Regions from separate parts of the Homo sapiens genome. Here region 1 is linked to region 2. Evidence: promoter capture Hi-C in 16 types of primary human blood cells and fetal thymus (Javierre and others, 2016). All regions are on one chromosome and are shown on one strand. Each heading gives the region's core, a stretch centred on a gene start or on the middle of the fragment in contact. The rest is flanking DNA. Distances are from core to core; before and after follow the strand shown. Region 1 has its middle 200 kb from the start of ZPLD1. Region 2 holds the start of CEP97 (centrosomal protein 97).

Evidence for each region. The method cuts DNA at HindIII sites, captures the fragments that hold promoters and counts their contacts. A CHiCAGO score of 5 or more calls a contact.
Region 1: a contact is called between a fragment that was not itself captured here and the fragment with the promoter of CEP97 in region 2, in 3 of 17 cell types (activated CD4 T cells, non-activated CD4 T cells and monocytes). The highest score is 7.6, in activated CD4 T cells.

What each region holds. Positions count from the first base shown.
Region 1 is chr3:102,230,584-102,234,253 of GRCh38, forward strand. No RefSeq gene overlaps it. Among named protein-coding and RNA genes, the nearest start is that of ZPLD1, 200 kb to the right of the region's middle. RefSeq lists an enhancer at 3,619-3,670. The HindIII fragment of the contact is 6,217 bases long and covers 1-3,670 here.
Region 2 is chr3:101,723,124-101,726,640 of GRCh38, forward strand. CEP97 (centrosomal protein 97) reads left to right here and starts at 1,491. Exons shown (of 11, transcript NM_024548.4): 1 at 1,491-1,596; 2 at 3,471-3,517. The coding sequence starts at 1,554. RefSeq lists enhancers at 1,467-1,836, 2,117-2,186, 2,358-2,969. The HindIII fragment of the contact is 6,095 bases long and covers 1-3,517 here.

The DNA of each region.
Region 1 (3,670 bases), core at 459-2,958, 510 kb after region 2:
GTCTGAGACAAAGCCTGAATCAGTCCAGCCTCACAAAGAGAGAATTTTGTGGTGCCTTCTATTTTATTTCAAAAATGTTTGTGAGATTTGCATTCTACTAACATGTATTTATGCTTGTTTTAATATATTAAAACGCATTTAATTGCTTTGACATTGAGTAAAATTGCTCCAGGAAAATGCAACATGTTTATCCTGTGACTTTGAGTCCTTTTGGCCGCACTGACAATTACCCCTTGAATTTGAGTTTCTCAGTTAAGATTAGGTAGGAGTAGTGGTAAGGTGATGGGTTTAGAAATCAGACTGAACTGGTTGATTCTAGCTACCCTAGTTCACTAATTGTGTAACCTTGGACATGATATGGGGCCTCTCAGTCTCATCTTTTTAATACATAAATAGGAATACTTGTAACCATATAGGATTGTTGTGAGGTGTAAATGCTAGAATGTGCACAAAAGGACAGAAAGTGTATAAAGCAGTTAGTACCTGATACACAAGGGACACACTCAATAAATGTTCTATCATTGTTATGAATGAGCCGTTTGGATACTGCATTGAACAATCCATTCGATCCCATTTGTTGAATATGAACTTAGTCTGGTATTTTCAATAGTACCAAGTTAAAATATGGCTTCTTACAAGGCAAAGGCAACCTATAAAATATAAGAGTTGCTTTAATATTGTTCCCTATGGCTTGTGTCTCTTTCAGTAAGGCAACCTATATAAATAAAACATTTTCAGTTTAGAGAAAAGGAGTGGGAGTGGGGTGAGGACAGGGCTTATTTTTCACTCCATAGCTTAACTCTTTGGCTCTGAGATGATCTGATGACTTGGCAGTTGGCAGTTAGCTGATGGCATCAGCTTTTTAGAAGCCAGAGCAAGACAACATTTCAAAGAAGATAGGAGAGTAGTAGTTGGCTCTGGCTATAAAATTCAGTTTTTAACTTTGGTTTCTGATCGCCTACAATGACCATAGTCCCCTTTTCCCTCTTTGCTCCCAAACAAAGCAGAGATGGAAGTTCTGTAGGGTTCAGGGACTAGTTAATTCTTCATGTCGGCTCAATGCATTTTGGAAGAGGATCTGAGAAATAGCCACCTTATGTGACCTCCTGAATAAAACTTACTCATATAGGGTAAGTAAGGAAATGCGTAAGTAAGGAAATCTAGTAGATTTAAGGCATTGCCTCAAGTTCTCTCAGATATAAATACATTTGATGCCTTGGCCTGGCGCTCAAGTACTTTACACATGAACAGGGGAAACAGCATATTCTTATGCAACACTATATTTAATGCAATCACCAATGTAAGCTCAATTAGCACAAGGACTCTCTTAATCAATTAATTAATCTGACAAACAAAGTATACACAAGATCTGAAACTGTGTGGTGTGGATTTGATCGAACAAGGTATGAGGTTTGTACTTAAAGATCTTACCGTCTAGTTAGAGGGAGGCAAATAAACAGGTAATTATGATGCAGTCTCTAACAGAAGGTGCTAACTCTGCCTGAGGGAGTCAGGTGAGGCCTTAAATCTGAGTGTGTTGACAGACTTGTGTCTTTGTAAGGTCTACGTGGTTGTTGCAAGCAGATTGCATTGGAAGAATTCTGCTGGTGTTGAAAAGGAAAGGATGAATACTGAAGGCATTTTAAACTTTAGAAGGTAAAGGACGGCTTGCAGGTCTCTGTAACTTACGACGTAGAGAATCAGAGGAGAGGAAAAGTCTATGGTGATTCTAAGGCATAGAACTGACTGGGTGCCCAGTAGAATGGTGGTGTCATGACACAGAAGGAAAACATAATGATGACCAACTAATTTTGGCTTTCAGAGTAGGATAAGTTTACAGTTTACAGGTTAAACTTGAGATGTAATTTCTAAGTGTATATTAAGTAATTTATAGCTAAAGCTGTTGGGAATTTTTTACTGGGCCTTTACTCTCTGTATCCACTAACAATAGCTAACATGTTGAAATATATAAAATTAAAGTGTATTTTGTATAAACTTGGGAAGGATTATCAGAATATATTAGAAATATATTATCAGAATATGTTATGTCAGAATATGTTAAATTAAAGGTATTTGCTACTGATATTAATAGAGATGTAAATTAAGGGGATGTGGAAATGCTAATGAATGAGTAAAGTGAGAAAAGTTAAACTAAAAAATTAAAGTAATTCTCTCTCAGAAGTCCTTTGTGACAAAAATAATCAATTTCCCCAAATTCTCTTACCTTTACTTCTTGAAAGTCTTTCAAATCTGTCTCCTTGTCTTCAACCATATTTCCATTGGTTTAGCTAAAGCCTTCCCTCCCCATTCTGGGTTAATAAGAATCTATTAAGTTTCCATCTCGCTTCCAGTCTCATTACCCCCGTCCACTTTCCACACTGTTATTTGAATGATCATTAGAAAGGACACATTATTATATTACACCCTTTGTATAAATGCATCCACTGGCTCTCTCTCTTCTCTAGCATCTTAGCGCTCTCTTAGATTCCGATATTTTTACTTTTCACCCCACATAATTGTACACACACGGACTTTCCATATTAAGGTCTGTACTTTTTGAGTCTAGGGACAATGTCTTATTCATTTCTGCATTTCCTAGGTCTAGAACCATATCCTTCTCTTATTATATTCTTGATAAGTGTGGGTTTATTATGGGCTGAATTTGGCTCCTTGAATTCATATGGTGAAGCCCTAATCCCAATGTATGTGGAGATGGGACCCTTAAGAAGGTAATTAAGGTTAAATGAGGTCATAAACTTGAGGTCCTAATTCAATAGGACTGGTGTTCTCACAAGAAGTGGCAGAGACACCAGAAGTAGTGCCTGTGCCAAAAGGAAAGACCATGTGAACACACAGAGAAGGTGCTGTCTGCAAGACGAGAGGCCTCATCATATATGAACAATGTTGGTACCTTGCTCTTGGACTTCCAGAACTGTGAGAAGATAAATTTCTGTTGTTTAAGCCACTCAGTCTGTGGCACTTTGTTAAAGCAGCCCAGCCAGACTAATACAGGGTTGAATTGGGCAGATGTGATGGATCATGTCTAGTACATATTTGCCATGAGAGGTCAATATCAATCTCTCTAGGTTTCTTGGCATTGCAGGTCATCTCTAAGTTCATGTGACAAAAATAGATCAGTAAGAAATTGTTCTTAGCTGAGGACTCAAGGCTGATATTAGGTTTGTTTGAATACTAATAAACAGTCAAGTATTTTTTAAAGAAATGCACTCTAAGAGGGGCTTTTGAAATTTTTCCTGCACAAACTCCTGGGATGTGAAGATGACCTAAGGAAAGTTGATGCTGTTAGGGGAAAGAGCAAAAGAAGAATTACTGGGAATCCAAGAGTATGTCCATATATGTCAGGACCCATAGGGTTTTATAGGCTCATGAATCAAGCGTGTGGCATCCTGATTTTGATTTAAGATTATCCACTGGGGAGCAGATTTTCTTTGAACTTTGCTTAAGCCTTCATGAACAAAGAGATCCTTCAGATATGCACTGTGAACTTCCTGATATAGTAACATGGGTCTCTTGGGGATGGTTGTTTCACATAATTTACCACATGCACAGACTGGACACACACCACTGCTCACTGTAGCCCAAACAGTATTTAGAGAGGTGCTGCTAGCAATCTGGCCTTCTGCTTTCAGCTTGGTGGCTGCTCCAAAGT
Region 2 (3,517 bases), core at 241-2,740:
ATATATAATATATAATATATATAACATATATAATATATAATATATAACATATATAACACATATAATATATAAATATATAACATATATAATATATAACATATAACATATATAATATATAAATATATAACATATATAATATATAATATATAAATATATAACATATATAATATATAATATATAAATATATAACATATATAATATATAATATATAAATATATAACATATATAATATATAATATATAAATATATAACATATATAATATATAAATGTATAACATATATAATATATAAATATATAACATATAACATATATATCTAAATATATAACATATATAATATATAATATCTAAATATATAACATATATAATATATAATATCTAAATATATGACATATATAATATATAATATCTAAATATATAACATATATAATATATAATATATAAATATATGACATATATAATATATCTAAATATATAACATATATAATATATAATATCTAAATATATAACATATATAATATATAATATCTAAATATATAACATATAATATATAATATCTAAATATATAACATATATAATATATAATTTATATATAATTATAATATATGCAATATCTATATAAAATATATATATTTTTGAGACATAGTTTCGCTCTTGTTGCCCAGGCTGGAGTGCAGTGGCATGATATCGGCTCACTGCAACCTCTGCCTCCCGGGTTCAAGCGATTCTCCTGCCTCAGCCTCCCGAGTACCTGGGATTACAGGCATGCGCCGCCACGCCAGGCTAATTTTTTTGTATTTTTACTACAGACGGGGTTTCTCCATGTTGGCCAGGCGGGTCTCGAATTCCCGACCTCAGGTGATCAGCCTGCGTTGACCTCCCAAAGTGCTGGGATTACAGACGTGAACCACTGCGCCCGGCCTGGAGATTATATTTTAAAGTTATTTTGAATACTCCCTGGAAAAGTTCTTGGTTCATACTTATACCCGTAAGTCAAAAGATTTGTCAAATATTCAAGAACAATCAAACAATCACTTAAAAATACTGTATAAAAGTTTCTATTTCGGCATACTTTACTTTTACTTAACTAAAATTTCAAATAAAATGTATCCACTTTTATGATCTCAACAAGATCGGTCATTCCTATAGCGGAGTTGAAAACTTTCAACTTATTCACAATTATCAAAAGAATGGAGCAGCCCCCACAGAGACTTCCAGCAATGAGTTGTAAAATGCAGTCTGCATTAAGTAGCTTCCTTACAATCATCCCGATGGTAAAAGTGTCAAATTTCGCAAACGCCTGGACAAGGAAGTGAAATGATCATCTAATAACGCAGTTGACTCATCTGTCAAATAAGCGAGTGGGCCAGGGTCCCTGAGCTCACTACCCTCAGATTCTAACTCCAGCTTCACATCATTAGGCGTAAGCAGCCAATTGGGCCGTCTGGGAGCCGTGCATCCTGGGAGTTATAGTTTCCGGCTCCCTCCTTCAGATTACAAGCTCCACAGAGCCGCGGGAGGACGGTTGCCTGGTATTATTAGCAAGCAGCAAATATGGCGGTGGCGCGCGTGGACGCGGCTTTGCCTCCCGGAGAAGGTAAGGCGATCCCTACCCCGAGTCCTAAGGTTTACTTCACGGAGCTGAATTAAATAGTGGAGAGCAGAAAACCTAGGTTTAGATGTGCAGTTCTGGACCAGTTCTTTTGATGCGGATCTGTGGTCGTCGCGGAGGCGGGCTACCCTCTGGGAGTTGTAGTTCACCTGCCGTTCCCAGCTCTCCGGCGTCGCGGTGAGGGCCGAGCGGGGGACTACAGCCCCCAGAAGCCTTCGCGCGGCCCGGCGCCCTGGCTCCCGCGCTCCCGATGCTGAGGAGGCGGTGGATTTCGGGCTGCGATGACCTTTCTTGACCATTTACTTTGAGTCATGGGTGCCTAAGCGAAATGTTTGGGATCTCCCTCTTTCGCTTCACACATCTCCCTCTCTTCTTGGTTCCTGGAACCATCAGGAAAACCTTCCCTCAGAGACCGCTGCCTAGTCTGGCTTTGAACCCTTCCTCGGAGGTGGCCAGTGGCCGTGATAAAATCTAAGGGATGATCCAGAGCCCGCAGTTCTGTACTCCTTGTTCTTGCACACGGGTCCTAGGATCGAGTTTGGTCGCTGCCCAGTAGAGCACAGGACTGTGTGGGTGCTTCTGTGGCCTGAAGATACCTACCTCTTTGGGGCGCCGGACGCGAGCTGCTTTTGTTTTGGTTACAGCTCCGAGGCTTGGCAGCAGTCAGTCCTCTAAATCGGGGACAGGGCCCAGGGGTCGAGGCCCGTCTTCATGGCTTAGACCAGGAGTGCATTTTCTGGGAGCTGTAAATTCTTGGGGGAAGAGTTGGTGGATGGTTCTCAGACCTCTCTGTCGACCCCTTGGAATTGTGTACAAAGGCTGTGCACTTTTCTGAGACAGCACACCCCTTTCATCAATTTTTCAGAGGGGCTCACGACTCCTCACATGCTAAGAGCCATTAGACAACGGGAAAACGTTGAAATCCTCCAGGAGAGCAATCTGGCATAATTATTTCCTGCAGTAGTCCTAATCTGGGTGTAAATTTGAAATTGGCCGTTTCTCTGGCCCCGCCCTCTTTGGAGATCGGCTTTTCTTAAACCACACCTCTCAAGCCCACCAGGGCTACTTAACTGTTAATAGCAGTTAACATTTACAGAGCACTTTGTATGACCCAGGCGATGTTCTCAGTCCTTTTTTTTTTTGTTTTTTTTTTTACATTATCTCATTTTCTCTGTAGAACTACATTTATAAGGCAGGTATTATCCCCACTTTACAGAGTAGAAAAGGGAGCCCAAAAGAAATCAATAATTTGCCTAATATACCACAATGGTTAATTGGTGGAGCCAGGGTTTGAACGTCTATGTTATACTAAAGTGCCTTATTGAGTGCCCGGTGGCAGGAACGGGGCTAAGTACTATTCATATGGTTTCTCTTTTAATTCTCATATCAAGCTAGGGAAATGGGTGTATTATCCTATTTTATGGGAGAATTAGTTGAACTATACTTTGATTTTCAAAATCACAGTTTGGGCACTTTAGGATATATTGGTAGTTAGGCTGTAAGCTGGTGGATTGCAGTCAAAAGTTTAGTAACATTTAAACAATAGTATCATTACTTAGGCACAACAAATGGAAGTAATCGTCCATATTTAAATGTGAAAATTTTCAAAGTATATCTTAGCAACTTGAGGAGAATATCACACGTCTAGTTTTAATTTGATATTTCTGAAGAAAAATGAGTAATTCAATCTGGTCATTTAGAACTCAAGATTGCTTTAATTTTACAATGTTGATATTTATTATGCTCTACTGTTCTTTAACTTGAAATGGTATAGAGATTTTATAATTCCAGCCCTATGCTTAGCTGTTGTACATGTTTTATTTTATTTGTGTTTTCTAACATTTCCGTTTCTTTTCAAGGATCAGTGGTCAATTGGTCAGGACAGGGACTACAGAAATTAGGTCCA